7 separate regions of the Homo sapiens genome follow, and regions 1, 2, 4, 5, 6 and 7 are each linked to region 3. The links are contacts of gene promoters, found by promoter capture Hi-C in blood cells and fetal thymus (Javierre and others, 2016). All regions are on one chromosome and are shown on one strand. Each heading gives the region's core, a stretch centred on a gene start or on the middle of the fragment in contact. The rest is flanking DNA. Distances are from core to core; before and after follow the strand shown. Region 1 overlaps ETV6 (ETS variant transcription factor 6). Region 2 has its middle 8.2 kb from the start of APOLD1. Region 3 holds the start of MANSC1 (MANSC domain containing 1). Region 4 overlaps CDKN1B (cyclin dependent kinase inhibitor 1B). Region 5 has its middle 21 kb from the start of MIR613. Region 6 has its middle 25 kb from the start of DDX47. Region 7 has its middle 10 kb from the start of MIR613.

The links. The method cuts DNA at HindIII sites, captures the fragments that hold promoters and counts their contacts. A CHiCAGO score of 5 or more calls a contact.
Region 1: a fragment that was not itself captured here is called in contact with the fragment with the promoter of MANSC1 in region 3 in 1 of 17 cell types (M1 macrophages); the score reaches 5.4 in M1 macrophages.
Region 2: a fragment that was not itself captured here is called in contact with the fragment with the promoter of MANSC1 in region 3 in 1 of 17 cell types (activated CD4 T cells); the score reaches 6.6 in activated CD4 T cells.
Region 4: a fragment that was not itself captured here is called in contact with the fragment with the promoter of MANSC1 in region 3 in 15 of 17 cell types (neutrophils, erythroblasts, activated CD4 T cells and 12 more); the score reaches 12.8 in neutrophils.
Region 5: a fragment that was not itself captured here is called in contact with the fragment with the promoter of MANSC1 in region 3 in 16 of 17 cell types (total CD4 T cells, naive CD8 T cells, total B cells and 13 more); the score reaches 15.1 in total CD4 T cells.
Region 6: a contact is called between a fragment that was not itself captured here and the fragment with the promoter of MANSC1 in region 3, in 1 of 17 cell types (activated CD4 T cells). The highest score is 5.3, in activated CD4 T cells.
Region 7: a fragment that was not itself captured here is called in contact with the fragment with the promoter of MANSC1 in region 3 in 5 of 17 cell types (naive B cells, activated CD4 T cells, non-activated CD4 T cells and 2 more); the score reaches 6.1 in naive B cells.

The regions. Positions count from the first base shown.
Region 1 is chr12:11,879,399-11,882,339 of GRCh38, reverse strand. The region is part of intron 5 of ETV6 (ETS variant transcription factor 6); the gene reads right to left. Among named protein-coding and RNA genes, the nearest start is that of BCL2L14, 190 kb to the left of the region's middle. The HindIII fragment of the contact is 2,928 bases long and covers 120-2,941 here.
Region 2 is chr12:12,792,521-12,795,220 of GRCh38, reverse strand. No RefSeq gene overlaps it. Among named protein-coding and RNA genes, the nearest start is that of APOLD1, 8.2 kb to the right of the region's middle. The HindIII fragment of the contact is 8,759 bases long and covers 1-2,700 here.
Region 3 is chr12:12,348,878-12,351,860 of GRCh38, reverse strand. MANSC1 (MANSC domain containing 1) reads left to right here and starts at 1,619. Exons shown (of 4, transcript NM_018050.4): 1 at 1,619-1,783. RefSeq lists a silencer at 1,309-1,618. The HindIII fragment of the contact is 5,175 bases long and covers 1-2,513 here.
Region 4 is chr12:12,719,143-12,721,898 of GRCh38, reverse strand. It overlaps CDKN1B (cyclin dependent kinase inhibitor 1B), which reads right to left. Exons shown (of 3, transcript NM_004064.5): 3 at 1-863. Among named protein-coding and RNA genes, the nearest start is that of CDKN1B, 3.2 kb to the right of the region's middle. RefSeq lists enhancers at 2,278-2,327, 2,398-2,477. The HindIII fragment of the contact is 2,899 bases long and covers 1-2,756 here.
Region 5 is chr12:12,742,449-12,745,268 of GRCh38, reverse strand. It overlaps a transcript of APOLD1 not described here. Among named protein-coding and RNA genes, the nearest start is that of MIR613, 21 kb to the left of the region's middle. The HindIII fragment of the contact is 1,917 bases long and covers 292-2,208 here.
Region 6 is chr12:12,836,742-12,839,793 of GRCh38, reverse strand. No RefSeq gene overlaps it. Among named protein-coding and RNA genes, the nearest start is that of DDX47, 25 kb to the right of the region's middle. The HindIII fragment of the contact is 827 bases long and covers 1,197-2,023 here.
Region 7 is chr12:12,773,453-12,776,410 of GRCh38, reverse strand. It overlaps a transcript of APOLD1 not described here. Among named protein-coding and RNA genes, the nearest start is that of MIR613, 10 kb to the right of the region's middle. The HindIII fragment of the contact is 3,048 bases long and covers 145-2,958 here.

The DNA.
Region 1 (2,941 bases), core at 334-2,833, 470 kb after region 3:
TAAAATCTTAGGACTTTCCAGAACAAAGTACACCTGCTCAGTGTATCTTTTCTGAACTCCAGCGTTCTCTTTGAATAGCAGAAGACACTGGCAGAAAACTGTGGCATTTTCCAGAAGCTTAATCTTTCAAGGAACTACCATTAAATGTACAGCAGCCCTAAATCTTTAGTATCCCTTATGGAATCCTTTCTTCTGTATTATCTGTGTTTAAACATTAATGTGGTGTGTCACTCATTGTGTTTTGGAAAAGGACAAGTGGCCTCCTTCTTAAAACAACAACACCATAGTCCTGGACTTTGAACCCCATTCTAACAACAGAAGCTGTCCAGCCACTTCTATTGCCCACCCCGTCTTGCCATGGCTGCATTCTGTATTGCCAGGGGATGGGCTGAGGTGGGGGTGTGGAGAAGATGAGCAACCCAAGCATCTTAAGTACCTTGAGAAATCAGTGTCCTACTGCAGACTGAGAATAATCTAGCTCGTTTTACAGGCATTTGAAGGAGGATGATTCTAGTTTCTAAGCAAAGCAGTAAAAAGTGGCAAAGTGTCTTTTTCCCTTGTAAGCATCTCCTTGTCTTGAATTACTTTCTCTATAAAGGGAAAATAGAGATCTGCTGTGGTCTGAATCTTCATGTCCTCCCCAAATTCATCTGTTGAAATCCTAACTAACTACCAAGGTACCTTTGGGAGGTGATTAGGTCTTGGGGGCCCCACCCCTGTGAGTGGGATTAGTGCCCTTTTAAAAGAGGCCTGAGAGAGACCCCTCACCCTTCCACCAAGTGAAGACACAGCAAGAAGGTGCTGTCTATGAACCAGAAAGTGGGCCCTCACCAGATGCCTCATCTGCCAGGGCCTTGATCTCCCCAGCCCCCAGAACTGTGGAGCAATCCGTATCTATTGCGTACCAACTACCCAGTCTACGGCAGTTTGTCAGAGCAGCCCCAAAAGGACTAAGGCCAGAACTCAGCTGTGGCTTAATATTTCAGTATTTGTCCTACTATCAAATGGCAGACACATTTTAATTTTCCATAATCTCTTCCAACTGGAAAACATCTGACAAAATCACATATTATCACATACAGTGCCTGTAAATTAGGGTTGGGTGTGGTGGCTTATAATTATAATCCCAATGTTTGTTTTGGGAGGCAGGGGCAGTAGACTTGCTTGAAAGTCCGGGAGTTCAAGACCAGCCCAGGCAACATAACGAGACCTCATCTCTACAAAAAATTTAAAAATTATCCAGGCGTGGTGGTGCATGCCTGTAATCCCAGCTAGTTGGGAGGCTGAGGTGGGAGAATTGCTTGAGCCCAGGGGTTTGGGGCTGCAGTGAGCCATGATCAACCCACTGCACTCAGCCTGGGCGATAGAGTGACAGAGTGAGACTGTATCTCTAGGGGGAAAAGAAGCCAGTAAATCAGGACGAACGAAAGTAGTTTGTGTGCAGCCCCTCCTATGTCTCCCTATAGGTTTACAATCATTTCCATTGCAAATAGGCTGACGACGCCATTGGATTCCTCTGGATTGGGAATGTGATTTTCTAGTGTGTTCATTTTAATAAATTTCAGCAATTAAGAAACGACCTGGTTGTCTTTTACAGTTTCATATAAAGACATTTTGCCCATATGAAGGTGGGTGACATCATGGCAGCCCTCTTGACTCTAGGCGGAAGGCACTCCACTCAGAAGCCTACTGTAGAGCAAAAAGAAAGCGGACAGTTCTCTAACCACAAGCATGGGCGTTTTCACTGCATGTTTCTGTTGCTTCTCTTTTACTGTAATGGTACATTCTACTTCTCATAAAACAGTGAAACGTGAACCAGACCATTTCTCCAATGTAAGGGCTTAACCTGCACTGGGCTGCCATGTTGGTTTTTCGGAGGCATCAAACTAGGACCTAGAATGTTATCTACTTATCAGATGGCAAAAGGAAGGGCAGGGCTTACCAGAGAACACCGTTTCCCTATCAGCTTCAAGAACATTTGTATCCGGCAAACTTTTCCTTTCATAAATGTGAAAACAACCCCAAACAAGCTGCCAATTGATCATTTTAAATGACATTTAATCCAGCAAAGCCAACTTTAGCTGAGTAATAAAAATACGTTGACATTCAGGACATATTGAATTAGTCACTAACGGAGACAGCAATAGGAATTTTGTGGCATAAAGCAGTTGTTTCAAGCTCAGAGTATAAGTGGCTTTTATAACATTATTGATTGTTTTGTTTCTTTGGTAAAAATTATGCCTAGATGATAAAAATAACTGCCTGACCACACAATAGATTTTTTTTCCTTTTTTTTTTTTTTTTTTTAAACAATTGACATTCAAGCCATGTCAGTTATTTTTGTTTCTAAGATTTCTATTAAATAAAAGGCAGATCCTCTTTAGGTTCCTAGATCCTTTAGAGGTTGTTGCCACGGCTCACCTGGAATTTTTCAGCCTTTTCGGAACCCATGCCTGCACAGATACAATGTTCTTTGATCATCAATGTAAATGCATAATACTATATAATAAAGCGCAACACACTCTATAAATAGAAGTTCACTCCACTTCAAAACACCTGAACGTATATGTATAAAATGTTTTTGGATCACAAGGTATTCATTAATTTTAAGTGCATTTTTCTTAAACGAAAGGGCTTTCTTCTATCTCAAGGCACATGGATATTTTAAAGAAATTTCCACTATTTGGATTTTCTTTTCCATGAGAAGTAGTTTATGAAAGTGTTTAGCCCAAGTATAGTTCCCTCTCCTTCCTGCTGGGTGAGGTACCCTCGGTATCCGCAGCTAAAGGCATTGTAAAAAATCCCTTCCTGTGGTTAAGGAGAAATATTTTCACTCCCACGTCTGTCTCTTACCAGAGACTCATTGTATAAACTTATTGAGCAGAGATTGTAAAAAGATGGGCAATTCACACATAACCAACATGGTTTCTAAAGAAAAAAA
Region 2 (2,700 bases), core at 190-2,689, 440 kb before region 3:
CGGGAAGTGGGGGTTGCAGTGAGCCGAGATCGCACCACTGCACTCCAGTCTGGTGACAGAGCGAGACTCCGTCTCAAAAAAAAAAAAAAAAAGAAAAGAAAAAGAATTGGGTATTCAGCAAAGTCAAATGCTACAGAGAAGTTAGAAAGAATTAAAATTAAATAACTGTGTTTGCTATGCAAAACCTCAGGGGACAATGTTAAATTCAAATCAACCACAAAGCATTATGATTTTGAATAGTTTATGATACCCAACATCTTATTCCTATTCATACCTATCTACTCACCCACATACCTCCAACACTTTTAGTCCATAAGCTACTAGACTGCAATTGAGTACACACCCCAACAGGAAGAAATTTGACAAGCAGGGTCAGTAGTAGTTTCAATGGAATGACCCCAAGAAGTTTCATTTTTTGAGGTTTTAAAATCAGATCTAGATAGGCCTGTTCGACCAGTAATTCCTTCATTCATGTCTGTGTCATCTCTACTGATAACTTCAGTTCCAGCGCATCTACAGTTAGCAAAAAGTTCTTATAAATCATGTCCTTCCTCTTCAGGTGTTTTGTTCACCAGAATTTTGCCATGTTTGGGAGATTTGGGGGAGCATCACAAAATATTATTCTGTAAATAGGCTTTGTTTTGTTTTGTTTGAGACAGAGTTTTGCTCTGTCGCCTAGGCTGGAGTGCAGTGGCGTGATCTCAGCTCACTGCAACCTCTGTCTTCTGAGTTCAAGCGATTCTCCTGCCTCAGTCTCCCGAGTAGCTGAGATTACAGGTGCCTGCCACCATGCCCAGCTAATTTTTGTATTTTTAGTAGAGACGGGGTTTCACCATGTTGGCCAGGCTAGTCTTGAACTCCTGACCTCAGTTGATCCTCCCACCTCAGCCTCCCAAAGTGCTGGGATTACAGGTGTGAGCCACTGTGCCCAGCCACCATAAAAACCCATACATAGGTTTTTATGATCAGAGCAAAAGTTTTATAACTTTCAAATCACACCCACACTGTTTATTATAAATACTAGTGACTTGCAAAGCTATATTTTATTTTTTTCTTATTGACTAGCCTACTGGCATAAGATTACTCATCCTAGATGAGACTGTTACTGCCAGGAGATGTTTTTATTTTTTTTGAGACAGGTTCTTGCTCTGTTCCCCAGGCTGGCTGGAGTGCAGTGGCCCAATCACGGTTCACTGCAACCTCGACCTCCTGGGCTTAAGTGATCCTCCCACCTCAACCTCCTGAGAAGCTGGGACTATAGGTGTGCAACACCACACTCAGCTCATTTAAAAATTATTTGTACAGATGAGGTCTCACCATGTTGCTCAGGCTGGTCTCTAACTCCTGGACTCAAGCAACCCACCTGCCTCGGCCTCCCAAGGTGCTAGGATTGGCTAGGCGCAGTGGCTCACACCTGTAATCCCAGAACTTTGGGAGGCTGAGATGGGCAGATCACCTGAGGCCAGGAGTTCAAAACCACCCTGGCCAACATGGCAAAACCCTGTCTCTACCAAAAATACAAAAATTAGCCAGGCATGGTGGTGGGCGCCTGTAATCCCAGCTACTCAGGATGCTGAGGTGGGAGAATCGCCTGAACCCGAGAGGCACAGGTTGCAGTGAGCTGAGGTCATGCCACTGTACTCCAGCCTGGGCGAAAAGAGCAAAACTCCGTCTAAAAAAAAAAAATCAGAAAAGCCAAGAGCATTGGATGGGCACAGCGGCTCATGCCTGTAATCCCAGCACTTTGGGAGGCCAAGGTGTGTGGATCACTTGAGGTCAGGAGTTCAAGACTAGCCTGGCCAACATGGTGAAACCCCATCTCTACTAAAAATACACACACACACAAAAATTAGCTGGGCATGGTGGTGGGCGCCTGTAATCCCAGCTACTCAGGAGGCTGAAGCAGGAGAATCGCTTGAACCCAGGAAGCGGAGGTTGCAGTGAGCTGAGATCATGCCACTGGACTCCAGCCTGGGTGACAGAGCAAGACTCCAAAAAAAAAAAAGGAAAAGAATAGCTAAGAGCATAACTCTGGAGTCAGGCTGCCAGAATTCAAATTCTGGGGCACCTCATGCTGGCAATGCAACCTCTCAAATTCCTTACTTTATCTAATAATATAGGGTAATTATAGTGTGCACACCATAAGATTTTTGTAAGGTAAATGAAATGATACAGGTCAAATCGTACTTAGAAGAGTATCTAGTGAGTTCTCAATAAATGTTAGCTATTGTTATTGTTAAATATCCCACATGTATGTTCAATATTATTGAAATGTCATTTTATTTAAGCACTGAAAAAAATATTGTTTTTAAATGATATTTTGAGAGTGCAGTTTTAATAAAAAGTGAGGGCAGAAAGAAATGTCTGCTTATCAACCGGGGAGCGTAGAAAAAGAAGTTTCGCCTAAAAGAAAGACTTTAGACATCACCCCTACCCTTTTTGTGTAGCTTCTCCCAGTTATAATTATTTTGGTGAATTTGGCAACCGTATTCACACAAATGCTGGAGGAGGCCAGGATCTGGCTGCTCCTGTGTGTAAGGGAGGCAGATGCCTTGGCCGTGACCCATGGCTAAAGCTCAGGGGGAATCAGGTCACAGGCCTGCCTGTCCTCCCACCTCTGGGGTTTTAGTGTAAATACAAAATTGGATTAAACATCATTTTCTGCAGATGTAGCTTCATATAGATAATCTCTATGCGTGC
Region 3 (2,983 bases), core at 370-2,869:
CCGAGGCGGGCGGATTGCCTGAGCTCAGGAGTTCGAGACCAGCCTGGGCAACACGGTGAAACCCCATCTCTACTAAAATAGAAAAAAATTAGCTGGGCGTGGCGGCATGTGCCTGTAGTCCCAGCTACTCAGGAGTCTGAGGCAAAAGAATTGCTATAACCCGGGAGGTGGAGGTTGCAGTGAGCCGAGATCACACCACTGCACTCCAGCCTGGGCAACACAGCGAGACTCCGTCTCTAAAAACAAACAAAACACAAAACAAAACAAAAAAAGAAACAGGTTCATTGTATTAAAGCACCGAATACGAAGTTTCTAATAATGGAAAGGTCTACTTTGTAACTAGCATGGATTACCCCATGTAGAGAGATTCAAAAACTGTGATAGCTCTACACCCTGAACCCTGAAGTGTATCAGATGATAAAAGATAAAACACACTTGCAGATCAGTCCCTTGTTGCATCAGGAAAATCACTGCAATGGGAAATTACTCTGGTGTTTACTTTTCTTTGGTAACTCTTTCAAACCTAGCTTTAGCAACATTGTAATTCAAGAGTCATCCTTTGGTTACAAGTAGAGTTAGTTTCACACAATGGACCTTTGTTCACAAGCATTCTCAGTCAACCTAATCCTCCTGTAGTTATTGGTTAAGACTAGGGTGTGTAGCTGTTGGCCGTACAGGCCTAGACTTAACTTGCAATTGCATAGCGCTTCAGGTCTGCAAGCTCTTTCAAAACAGAGGTGAAGATACTGTCAAAGGTTAGACCATATGGCAAACTAAGTGTCAATGGTTTAGTAACGTTGCATTTGTGTGTGTGTTTATGGAGGTGGGGATGGGGCCAGCAGTAATTTAGAAACTTCCACAACCTATGCCCTATGCAGTTCTTTTCCATTCATTCAGTCAACAAAAATATTTTAGTTAAATATTTACTGAGCACCTATTGTGTACCAGGCACTATGCTAAGTGTTAGGGATACAGTTTTAATATATGTTACAGACACCAGCATTTTCACCATTATTATCCTATCTACAAACAATAAATCCCGCAGAAAGCCAAATACCTTCCCTGAAGTTTGTCTTGCAGATAATATTTAACTCAAGAATTGCCATCTTTAATTGAGGACTCCATCCTCCAATTATGGAAAGAGGATTCTCAGAACTATGCCCCCAATAGGATGCACTATAAGCCCTTGAACATCAAAAAACTGCTCTCAGTGGTTGCCTCTGAGGAGGGAGACTAGGAGACTGGGGCACGGGGGTGAGGGGTAGACTTGTCTCTGTGTCTATTTTTGTACTGTTTGACATTTTCCCCATGTGCATTTATTTTAACTTGCGCGGGCCGCGAGGCAAGGCTCACCTGCAGACCCTCGGGCCACCAGCAGGGAGGCACGCACTCCCCCTCGCAGCGCGCCCAGCCCGGGGTCAGCGGTGTGGCTGAGCTGGGGGGGAGCGCGGGGCGGTGGGGGGAGCCACCTCCCTGCGGGGCTCAGCGCTGGGGCCGGGAGCCCGGAGCCTCCGCGGGGAGGGACGCGCTAATGTTGCCGGGAAGCAGCTCCGGGTTGCAGGGCAGGAACGTGCCCTTCCCCCGCGGCAAACTTGCCGTCGCTGCGACGGAAGCAGGAACTTGCTAACCACAAAACCCGCCAGGCCGGTGCGGGAGCTGCGGAGCATCCGCTGCGGTCCTCGCCGAGACCCCCGCGCGGATTCGCCGGTCCTTCCCGCGGGCGCGACAGAGCTGTCCTCGCACCTGGATGGCAGCAGGGGCGCCGGGGTCCTCTCGACGCCAGGTAAAGGGGTCTCCCCAATACCCACCCCCGACCGGCCGCAGGCGACGTCGCTACCTGCGGAGAGAGTCGGTCCCCTCCTTTCCAGGGGCCGAGGCTCCTTCACCCACACCCGAGCATCCAAAGGACCAGCTGGGGCCAATAAGGGCTGACCAGGATCCTTGAGTCGCTGCAGTATTCCAAAGGGGACCTCTAGGCGGGCTCAAGGCACCTGCCATAAATGGCTCTGGCTCTGCGTTGACATCAGAAGGAGAGGCAGAAGAATAGCTCAGTAGGCAACATGCATTTCCTCAAAGGAAGAGAAAATGTTCCCTGTTTTCTTGTCGTTGACTCTGTATTCATTATTGAAACTGCTAATTGTCTAATTCTCTGTAGAGTGTGTGTGTGTATACAGTTATAAGCATCTTGGTAAATTATAGTGTGCTGTAAGACGATTTCCAATATTTGAACTAATTACGTGCGAGTAAGTTTTAGCGACTCTTGTATGCAGACGTTAAAACTCAGGGGCATCCTCTCTCACCCGCCTGTATCCTTTTACCCCGTCTTTCAACAAGATTCAACTCGACTTCAGGCCCTTAAAGCCTAAATAATAATGGATTAGAAAACGTCGCTAACCTAATATTGCTGAGCCTCTTTAATGATATAAAACTCTTAAACACTTCTCTCAATGCTGCATACTGAAAACAACTCCTGCCCCATCTCCTTACATAGTTCAGGTTTCTTTGCAAAAGCTTGAAAAGAGGCTACATTAGAATCCATTCAAAATAAAGTATTGGCCTGGTTTTCTCTTGATTCCCTAGAGGCTTGCAAAATATGGCAGCGTATTAAGTACCTTGGCCAGAATTATTAACCTGGGGAGTCCACGATAAGGTATCCATGGATAGAATTCAGGATGTCTGTGAACTTGAGTGGAAAAAATTATTATTTCACCGACTTCTGAAATGGAATGTAGGCAAAAGCCACAGTAGTATTAGCAGTAGCTATGATTTGCCCCCTGTAAATATTGCCGATATCTTTATATCACATGACTTGTTGCACGTTTCAAAATATTATCTATACTCAATACCACGTCAAAATTATGGCAGTTATTAGATGACCACTTGTTACTTAATAGGTTAATAAAGAAGCACATATTATGTCCCACAACTTTTTGTAAGTTTTAACTAAAATGAGGATAATAATGGGATCTGTAAAGATTAAATG
Region 4 (2,756 bases), core at 158-2,657, 370 kb before region 3:
AGATCTTTAAAAATATCGAGGGATTTAGAATTATTTTGACTGTGTTTACACAGCCCGAAGTGAAAAGAAAATGAGAAAATTTTGTCAACAAATTTAATAAAAGCAGATGGTCAATTCTTAACATTCAAAACTCCCAAGCACCTCGGATTTTTGCCCCAAACTACCTGGAGTGATCACCATTCTGCTGAGTAATTAACTGGTAAATTCCAACTTTAAGAGAGACTGGGGAGGGCAGTGAGGATAGGTTTCTGTTGCTTTTTTAAAAAAGCCACATGCAGCTATCTAACAAACTTTAGATAGCTTGGGAGATCACCAGATCTCCCAAATGAGAATAAACTTCTTGTAAAAATAAATAGCAATTATCTTTAGCCAGTGTTCAAATTTTTGTGATTTTTTTAAATGAAGTATCAGCTGTCTCTGAAAGGGACATTACATCTTTAAAGAAAACAATTCAAACCCTTCCCCAAAATTGCTTCTCTTCATGCAAGTCAAATATTTATCTACTTGCTGTAAATCAAAGCAAGCTCTTCATACCCCGCTCCACGTCAGTTCCTCAGCCCCACCCTGCCCTCCCTTCCCCAAAGTTTATGTGCTACATAAAAGGTAAAAACTATATACACAGGTAGTACAATGAAGCAAATAAGGAAAAACCTAATTGCATAATGCTACATCCAACGCTTTTAGAGGCAGATCATTTAAGAGTGCCTAAAATTTTAGTGTTATTGTGTTGTTGTTTTTCAGTGCTTATACAGGATGTCCATTCCATGAAGTCAGCGATATGTATTTTTAAAATTTTCATGTATATCTTCCTTGCTTCATCAAGCAGTGATGTATCTGATAAACAAGGAAACATATTCTTAATTCTGCAAAAGAAAACAAAACGGAAGAATTAAAGGAAGAGCACTAGATTAACGTTACCAGTAGAGTACAGGAATTATTTTGTCACTATGTTAGCTTGGAAATACTTGATGGGGAAAAAAGTTTGATGACTATAGTCATCTCCACCTAACATTCTCTTAACTGGATTTTTTTTTCCTTTCCTCTGTGCTGTGTTCTTTGGTCTAGAGCAGTAGTTCTTAACAGTAGGCAATGTTGCCCCCGCCCCACAGGGAACATTTGGCAATGTCTGGAGACATTTTAGGTTGTCACACTGGGGGAGGAGGATACTGCTGGCATCTAGTGTGAGAGGCCAGGGATAATTCCAAACAATCTAAAACACACAGGACAGCCTCCTACAACAGAATTATTCGGCCCAAAATGTCATTAGTGCAGAGGCTGAGAAACCCTACTCTAAATAATCTAGGTCAAAGGCAAGTGGGAAATAAATAGGATAATTAGGAAACTGTAATACTTACGGGTAAAAATTTTCTAAATTTTTGAAAATTTTTAATTTTTTTTCTCCTGTGACAGATTAAACTTTCTAAATTTGAAAAATGATTGGGAATAAAAATTATAAAGGCCTTCCAGAGGAAAATTTTATTAACATCATTTTCAAAATATTCTAATTCCTGATTCATATGCAGAAAATACTCATGAATACTTTTGAATAGGTTCTTACTAATATTTCTAGTATTCTTTGAACTAGCAATATTACTAAATCCTACAAATGCCTCATTGCATGTCAGAACAGGGCCAGATCAAAATCCAGGTCTGATTCTCGTGGCTCATCTGATGAGCTAGGCCACAAGTCACAAACCAACAAGGGCTGCGCATGTTAAGGTTGCTTCAGGAAAATTTTCACCTAATTTTCCCACTTCATATGGTGCTGTAAAATGGAGGTTCTATAGTGCCGTTTTGTATAAGCGCTGAAAAAGATATGTGAAGTCACATATACAATTTAAAGACACAACAAACCTGAATCTCACCTTAATCCCTGTTATTTTAAAATTTTTATAACTGGGGATTTAAAAAGTTAACATCAATATTTTATCGCCTCATATGCTAAACTACGTGTGTGCTTTAGAAAATAAAGAGGTCACAGTCTTGGTCTAAAGGAAGCTAATAAACTATTAAAATATGTAGTTTATTATGAATAACCAACCCATGTTGGTTATCTGGGGACTGAATTATTCAAATTAGCTATTTACAGTGATCAGATTCTTGTGCATGGAAAAATCTCCACTTCCTTTGTGCTGGGCTGACCTACGGTCACCAGTCTTGATATTTACTACCCATTTCCCCTACAAATATCCAAATCACCCTGTTACGGCACAATTAGCATACACTGGCTGACGTGTTCCTGGATTGCTTACTGACAAGAGTTAATTTAACTTCTGCTTTGCAACTTCAGTGTTACCAGAAATTCTGTAGAAACTTTAGTAACTTTTTTATCTTTCCATTTGGTTTTTGCAAATACTGGTTCCTTCTCTCTCCAAACTTAGGAGACAACAGGGAAAGTGACAGTTTATTAAAATGTCAAAGAACACAACATACCATCCTATTCACATCTCTAATCCCTTGCATAACCAAAGATGAGCAATTTCTACCAAACATTCCCCCTCAAAATTGAAACTTAATCATGTATTTGCCATTTTTCCATGTATGGCTCAAAATCTGTTACCGACTCAAGCTGAACCTCTAGGAAATTAATTCTCATTAATTCGGACTGAGGGAGTACCCTAGTTCTTGTTCGGATGGGCAAAGAACCTATTGCTCCCAACACGTTTTAGTGGGACTCACAGGGAAACGACCTTCCTACCCGATGGGGCCTGGGTTACAAGTAGCTGCTCTGGTCAACAGTTTGAAGAGAAAGTATC
Region 5 (2,820 bases), core at 1-2,500, 390 kb before region 3:
CGCCCGGCCTTCTTCAGTCTTCTCCTTGTAAAATTCTCTTTCAAATATCTCCTCATTTTGTGTTGGGTAGAGCAATTTGGTCTTCTCTCTGCCTTTTAATTCTCCTCACAGCCAATCACCCTGCTTAATTCAACAAAGGCCCTCTAGGGAGATGAGTACACAAAGCATTCACTTTTTTTAGACAGGAAGGGAGGTATTGCCAGTACATTATTTTAATACATTTTTCCCTCTAACACACAGGCATAAAACAATAAATTCAAAGCAGGCCAGAAGTAGAGAGAAGAAAAAGCTTTGTCAGGGTGAAGCAAGTATGGGATCCAGGTAGGCACAAGTTCATAGTGATATTTGGTGAAGGGAAAGCAGATCGTGGCACAGGGATCTTGTTCTGTGATCTGCCCCATGAAGTCGGGCAGACAGACACTCTACATAAAACAGGTTCAGAATGAGGCCAAATCACCTGGCAAGAGGAGGCCAGGAGCCAGACAGACACTGAGCACAGGCAACAGGAAAGCAGCTTAATAGGCAATAAACCAAGTTCTAAGGCAGAGCACCCCGGAAATTTATAGTCAGGATCAGAACTGATCCCAGCGGCAGTGTCCAATTCCCATCTCTTAAGTGGACAAATAAATCACCTGCCTAGAGTTGAGAGCTGAGAAATCAGAAACCAAGCAGTTCTTTGTTTTTTGATATGGAGTGCAGTGGTGCGATCTCTGTTCACTGCAACCTCCGCCTCCCAGGTTCAAGCGATTCTCCTGCCTCAGCCTCCTGAGTAGCTGGGATTACAGGTGTGCACCACCAGGCCCAGTTAATTTTTGTAATTTTAGTAGAGATGGGGTTTCACCATGTTAGCCAGGCTGGTCTCGAACTCCTGACCTCAGGTGATCTGCCCACCTCAGCCGCCCACAGTGCTGGGATTACAGACCTGAGCCACCACAGCCAGCCATTTTTTTTTTTTTTTTTTAAGCAGGGTCTGGCTCTATTGCCCAGGCTGGAGTACAGTGGTGCCATCATAGCTCACTGCAGCCTTGATCTCCTAGGCTCAAGTGATCCTCCTGCCTCAGCCTCCCGAGTAGCTGGGACTACAGGTGCACACCGTTCCTTGCTAATTTTTTATTAGTAGAAACGCAGTCTTGCTATGTTCCCCAGGCTGGTCTCAAACTCCTGACCTCAAGTGATCCACCAGCCTCAGCCTCCCAAAGTGTTGGGATTACAGGCATGAGCCACCACGCCCAGCCATCATCAATTTAATATCTTGCAGTACTGTGTGCTAGAAGTCTAACATGGGTCTCACTGGGCTAAAAGCAAGGTGCCAGCAAGGCTGCATTTGTTTCTGGAGGCTCTGGGGGAGAATCCTTTACCTTGCCTCTTCCAGCTTCTGGAGGCTGCTGCATTCCTGGGCTCCTAGCCCCTTTCCTCCATCCTCGAAGCCAGCAACAGCAAGCTAAGCCCTCACGTCACACCACTCTGAATCCCTCTTCTGCTTTCCTCTTCCAAGATTCAGGACCCTTGTGATTACATTGGGTCCACCTGGATAATCCAAGATACTCTCCCAATTTTATAGTCAGCAAATCAGCAAACAATTCCATTTGCAACCTTAATCCCCCCTTTGCCATATAACATACCATATTAATAGGCTCTGGGGATTAGGATGTGTATCTCTTTGGAGGGGGGCATTCTTGTGCCTCCCACAGAGTGAGAAGTGCTGTGGAGAAAACAAAGCAGGGACAAGGGAAAGGGAGCAACCACTCTTCCATAGTCACCTATTCCTCTGACCACAGATGGAAAGGCCCTCTGCTTTTGCTTTTAAGGATTTATTTTGTTAGATTGGGCTCACCTGGATAATCCAAACCGCTCTCCTCATCTCAAGGTGCTTAACATTAATCACACCTGTTTTTTTTTTTAAAGATGGGGTCTCACTATGTTGCCCACGCTGGCATCAGTGATTGACTGGGCTCAAGAGATTCTCCATCTCAGCCTCGTTAGTAGCTAGGAATACAAGTGTGTGACACCATACTGGGCTCCAAAGGAGTTCTTTGATTGCACAAATAAAATGACCTTTTAATGAGATCCCTCACTCAATACATTAGCAAACAACACTTGGCTCTTATCTACCTACACCTACCTCCAAAGTAAGCTGGGTCTCCCCTTTCAGGCAAATGATATAGGAAGTGGGAAACCAGCTCAACCAAGATTAACGAAGATAAAGCTTTTGACCATGGCGGGGCGCGGTGGCTCACGCCTGTAATCCCAACACTTTGGGAGGCCAAGGCGGGAGGATCACTTGAGCCCAAGAGTTTGAGACCAGGGCAGCATGCCAAAACCTTATCTCTACAAAAAATTAGCCAGGGTGGTGTCACATGCCTGTAGTTCCAGCTACTCAGAAGGCTGACGTGAGAGGATCATTTGAGCCCTGGATGTCAAGGCTGCAGTAAGCCGAGATCATGCCACTGCACTCCAGCCTGGGTGACAGAGTGAGACCCTGACCAGGGCCTTTTTTTTTTTTTTTAGATGGAGTCTTGCTCTGTCGCCCAGGCTGGAGTGCAGTGGCGCGATCTCAGCTCACTGGAACCTCCGCCTCCCAGGTTCAAGCAATTCTCTGCCTCAGCCTCCTGAGTAGCTGGGATCACAGGCACCTGCCACCACACCCAGCTAATTTTTGAATTTTTAGTAGAGATAGGGTTTCACCATCTTGGCCAGGCTGGTCTTGAACTCCTGACCTTGTGATCCACCCACCTCGGCCTCCCAAAGTGCTGGGATTACAGGCGTGAGCCACCGTGCCCGGCCGACCAGGGCCCTCTTATCTACCTTGGAAGAAGGTGG
Region 6 (3,052 bases), core at 361-2,860, 490 kb before region 3:
CTGGTTAGGGGCATCACTGGCATTTATTAGGAAAATGAGTTAGGCTAGCCAGCCTTCTCTAAAGCATACTTCTGTCGCCTAACTACTCCCACTACTCTTCTCTTTTTTTTGAGATGGAGTCTCACTCTGTTGCCCAGCCTGGAGTGCAGCGGCATGATCTCGGTTCACTGCAACCTCCACCTCCTGGGTTCAAGTGATTCTTCTGCCTCAGTCTCCCGAGTAGTGGGATTAGCAGGCACGAGCCACCACACCCAGCTAATTTTTGTATTGTTAGTAGAGACGGGGTTTCACCATGTTGGCCATGCAGGTCTCGAATTCCTGACCTCAAATGATCTGCCCACCTCGGCCTCCCAAAGTGCTGGGATTATAGGCATGAGCCACTGCACCCAGCCCCCACTACTCTACTCAAAAAGGAGCCTTCAGTCTTCAAGACTGAAAAGCAGGGCCTGTTTTTTCTCAGGCAGATATTATGAACAAAATTCCACTGAACTTTTTTTTTAATTGAGGGAGTCTTTAGTGTCTGTCTTAAATGGCTAAGAGCTTGTGGGCACACTCTAAAACATATACAAACCTGTAAACATACACATACTTCCTTTAAGTATCTTCAAAGGAAAAATGAACAGATTCTGGTGATCACCAACATCCTCTCTGTCTTCACATGCTGATTTTATGTGAGGTTTCACGTGAATCTTCTGGCAGTCCAAAGGTCACTTTTATTTTCTGGAGATTTAGTAAAAAACACAAAACTATGGTGCTCAATTTCATTTTGTCAGCATAGGCTCACCCTGCAAAATTCCTGAATACCCTTGGATGAATTTAAGAAATCACGGAAGACAGAATAAAGAATAACTACGCTGCGCCGGGTGTGGTGGCTCACGCCTGTAATCCCAGCACTTTGGGAGGCCAAGGCAGGCGGATCGCCTGAGGTCGGGAGTTTGAGACCAGCCTGACCAACATGGAGAAAACCCGTGTCTACTAAAAATACAAAATTAGCCGGGCATGGTGGTGCATGCCTGTAATCCCAGCTACTTGGGAGGCTAAGGCAGGAGAATCCCTTGATCCTGGGAGGCAGAGGTTGCGGTGAGCCAAGATCACGTCATTGCACTCCAGCCTGGGCAACAAGAGCAAAACTCTGTCTCAAAAAAAAAAAAAAAAAAAAAGACTAGGCTGCAGTTTTAAAATATGACAAACAAGCTTTTCTGATCTGCAGTTTCCTCGAGAAATGACTCATGACCTCCAGTAAAAGAAATAATATATGCCAGTCACCTGGCAAACTCCTAACACACAGGAGGCTCTCCTCAGCCCTATTGTAAAGAATCACTTATTTACTATTTACCTTTTAGAGACAGGGTCTTACCCTGTCACCCAGGCTAGAACGCAGCAGCACAATCATAGCTTACTGCAATCTCATCCTCCAAGACTCAAATGATTGTCTTGTCTCAGCCTCCCAAGTAGCTAGGACCATAGGCGGGGTCCGCCATGCCCAGCTAATTTTTTATTATTTTTGTAGAGATGGGGTTCTGCTGTGTTACCCAGGCTGGTCTCAAACTCCTGGCCTCAAGCAATCCTCCCACCTTGGCCTCCCAAAGTGCTGGGATTATAGGCATGAGCCACCATGCCCTGTCCAAGAATCACTTATTTAAAACCAAACCAACAACCATTACAAATGTACAAATAGACGTATGTCAAATAAGAAATCTTTGGATAGTCCCCACTCTTGACCCACCCAGAAATCGCGACAGGGATGTTGGTTTTAAGTTGGCACTGGATTTAATAGCTTGGGTAAGAGAGTTTCTAAGATATCAGGAGTTACCAGTGGACTCCTCCCCCAAAAGAATGTGTGAGGACAAGAGCCAGCATCACATCAGTGAGAGCTGGCCCAGTATAAATGACCACCATGCTTGATTGCTGCTACTACTCTTTTGGACCCAGAAGGACAACTCCCCATCACTTTGGGCTGAAGGACATGTCTCTAGGATAAAATGAACGAACAAGCAGCTCACAGGTTACCCAGCACCAAGCTTATTTGATACAGGAGCACGGGCTGTGGACCAAGCCTACTGGATGGATACGCAGTGAGGAGAGAGGGAAGCAGTGAGGGGGGTCGGTGGCTCACAAACAACGTGTATTGGGATAGGCGGGGGAAAGAGTATTCCTGACTTACAGACTGGGGTAGGGGGTGGGGAAAGGAGCAAACAAAGCAAGTGGCTTCATCAACATCCCAGAGGGAAAGGCAGGCTTTGGAAAAGAACCAAGTGTTTGGAAGTTGACGAGGAGGGTCCACAGCCAGGGACCGCGCAGTAGAGACGACAGAGGAACGCGACCTTTTTTTCTAAGTGCATCTGAACTTGCCTTTACTTCGGGGCTCCCAGTCCCCATCCTCTGGGTCAACCTAGCAGATCTTCTTGAAGGCTGACACCCTTCACATACCTGTAGGTAGTTCTCCTCCCCACCCTGACCCCTGACCCCTAGTTCCAGTGGGACTGTCCTCCACTGTAGTCATACAAGGAGTCTGCCTCATCTGCCCCTGTGCCTCAGCCACAGCCCACTGTGAATCACTCGGCTCCAAATTAAAACTCCTTCCCTCTCCGGAGTGGTCTTTTCTTCCTTCTGCCATCTACTGGTGAAAACAAGAATGTCTTATTTTCTTACCTGCCTGTTGCCAATTTGAAAATAGCTTGGAACCTGAAAGTTCATTTGCATAGTACTTACTTGTTGTGTGGAACATACTGCATGAGTAATATGGAATTACACATATATACATACACACACACACACACATAACAAACAGTGTATTTAGTGTAAAGGGCAGAGGCTTGGAATCCAATTTGGCTTCAAATTTTTACTTAGCCCTTTACCAGCTGTATGATCTGGGTACGCTGCCAGTCTTCATCTATGCTAAAAGCCACAATTAATGATCATTATAATGACTAACACTTACTGATTGTTATCATGAGCCACAGTATAGTTCATTTAACTTCACAATGCTGTACTATAACTGTGTGTCTTCAGATAAGAAGGTTGAAACACAGGAAGGTTTAACAACTTGTCC
Region 7 (2,958 bases), core at 419-2,918, 420 kb before region 3:
TACTGGGAAACAATTACCTTTGTCTGGCCCTTTCTCAGGCTTAGTCATTATCTTCCGAGTTCTCAGACATCTACAACAGTATTGCAGCCTGGATTATAACACCTGCTTGTTTTGTATCTACAGAGGCATCATAAATCTTAAGCTTTCCCTTAGCTTTTAGACTATTTGAATGGTTTAATTTGTAATATGCCTGTTATAGGTGAGAGAATGTTGGATACTTGTTTTCTTTTCTAACTTTGTTTAAAGTCTATTTTTAGTAGAATTCAGTCGGTTCACATTAAGCAATATGATGAAGCAAGGGGTGTATCTTCTAACACCCTGAAAGTTGGTCATTATTATTCTCCTTATTTGCTTTTATTAATTTAGTTTTGTTTGTTTGTTGTGTTTTTTTTTTTTTTTTTTTTTTTGAGACTGGGTCTCACCCTGTCACCCAAGCTGGAGTGCAGTGGCATGATCATAGCTCACTGTAACTTTGAACTCCTAGGCTCAAGCAATCCTCTCACCTCAGCCTCCTGGGTAGCTGGGACTGCAGGTGCACACCCCCACACCCAGCTAATTAAAGAAAGAAAATTTTGTAGTAATGAAGTCTCACTATGTTGCCTAAGCTGGTCATGAACTCCTGGTCTCAAGCAATCCTCTCGCCTTGGTCTCCAAAAGTGCTGGGATTACAGGCATAAGCCATTGTACCCAATCGTTTTTTAAAAAATGTAGTTTCTATGGTGAGTTTTCAACTCTATTTGCTCTTGAATTAGGTAAGAAAATGATTTTATGTAATCTATTTTCCTCTCCAAACTTGCTTTGTTAGACTATTTTTTAGAGCAGTTTTAGATTTGCAACAAAATTGAGTGGAACATACAGAGACACCCCGTGCTCCCTGCCCTCACACATGCATAACTTCTCCCATTATTGCCAGTGCCCACAGAGCAGTACCTATGTTACAATTCATGAACCTACATTGGCCCAAAGTCTGCAGTTTACATTAGGGTTCCTTATTGGTATTGTACGCTCTGTGGGTTTGAAAAATGTTTAATGACATGTATCCACCATTACTGTCTCATACAGAGTAGTTTACCTGCCCTGGAAATCCTCTGCACCTCGCCTGTTCATCCCTCCCTCCCTCCTAACCCCTGGCAACCACTGATCTTTGATCACTGTCTTCATAGTTTTATCTTTTCCAGAATGTCATTAGTTGGAATCACAGCATGTAGCCTTTTCAGATTGGCTTCTTTCATTTACAGACATGCACTTAAATTTCCTCCACATCTTTTCGTGACTTGATAGCTCATCTCTCTTTGGCACTGAATAATGTCCCATTGTCTGGATATGCCACCATTTATTCACTCAGCTACTGAAGAACATCTTGGTTGCTTCTGATGTTTGGCAATCACAAATAAAGCTGTGGTAAGCATCTGTGTGTAGCTTTTTGTGTGGACATAAGTTTTCAATTCCTTTGGGTAAATACCAAGGCACATGACTGCTGGATCTTATGACGAGAGTATGTTTAGTTTTGTAAGAAACTGCCAAACTGTCTTCCAAACTCATCATACCATTTCAAATTCCCACCAGAAATGAAGGAGAGTTTCTGCTGCTCCACATCCTCATCAGGGAATTTAGTATCGTCAGTTCTAGATTTTGGCCATTCTAATCAATATGTAATGGTACCTCATTGCTGTTGTGATTTGCATTCCCTGATGACATATGATTTGGGACGTCTTTTCATATATTTATTTACCACCAATATCTTCTTTGGTGAGGTGCCTGTTAAGGTCATTGGCCCATTTTTTGTTCAGGTTCCTTGTTTTCTTTCTTTTCTTTTCTTTACTTTTCTTTTCTTTCTTTTTTTTTTTTTTTTTTTTTTTTTTTTGGAGTTAGAGTCTCGCTGTGTCACCCAGGCCAGAGTGCAGCAGTGTGATCTTAGCTCACTGCAACCTCTGCCTTCTGGGTTCAAGCCATTCTCCTGCCTCAGCCTCCCGAGTAGCTGGGATTACAAGCACACACCACCATACCCAGATAATTTTTGTAGTTTTTGGTAGAGACGGGGTTTCACCATGTTGGCCAGGCTGGTCTCAAACTCCTGACCCAAAGTGATTCACCCTCTTCGGCCTCCCAAAGTGCTAGGATTACAGGTATGAGCCACCACACCCGTCCAGGTTCTTTTTCTTCTTATTGTTGAGTTTTAAGAGTTCTTTGTATATTTTGGATAACAGTCCTTTATCAAATATGTCTTTTGCAAATATTTTCTTCCAGTCTGTGGCTTGCCTTTTCATTCAATTCACAGTGTCTTTTGCAGAGTAACATTTTTTAATTTTAATAAAGTCCAGTTTACCAATTCTTTCTTTCATGGATTGTGCCTTTGATGTTGTATCTGAAAAGTAATCACCAAGTCCAGGGTCATCTAGATTTTTTTCCTGTTATCTTCTAGGAATTTTATAGTTTTATGTTTTACTCTTAGGTCTGTGACCCATTTTAGGTTGATTTTTGTGAAGAGTGTAAGATCTGTGTCTAGACTCATTTTTTTCTGCATGTGGATGTCAGGTTTCCAGCACCATTTGTTGAAAGACTATCTTTGCGCCATTGTCTTGCTTTTGCTCCTTTGTCAAAGGTCAATTGTCTATATTTATGTGGGTTCACTTTGGGGCTCTCCATTCTATTCTATCGGTCTGTTTTTCTAGTCTTTCACCAATACCACACTGTCTTGATTATTGTAGCTTTATAGGAAGTATTAAGTCGGGAAGAGGTTCATTGATTTTATTAATCATTTCAAAGAACCAGATTTTGATTTCCTATTTTTAATTTCATTGATTTCTCCTCTGATTTTTATAATCTTTTCTCCTACTTTTCATTTATTTATTTAACAGACACGGTCTGTCACCTAGGCTGGAGTACAGTGATGCAATCATAGCTCACTGTAACCTCAAACTCTTGGGTTCAAGTGATTCTCCCACTTCAGCCTCCTAG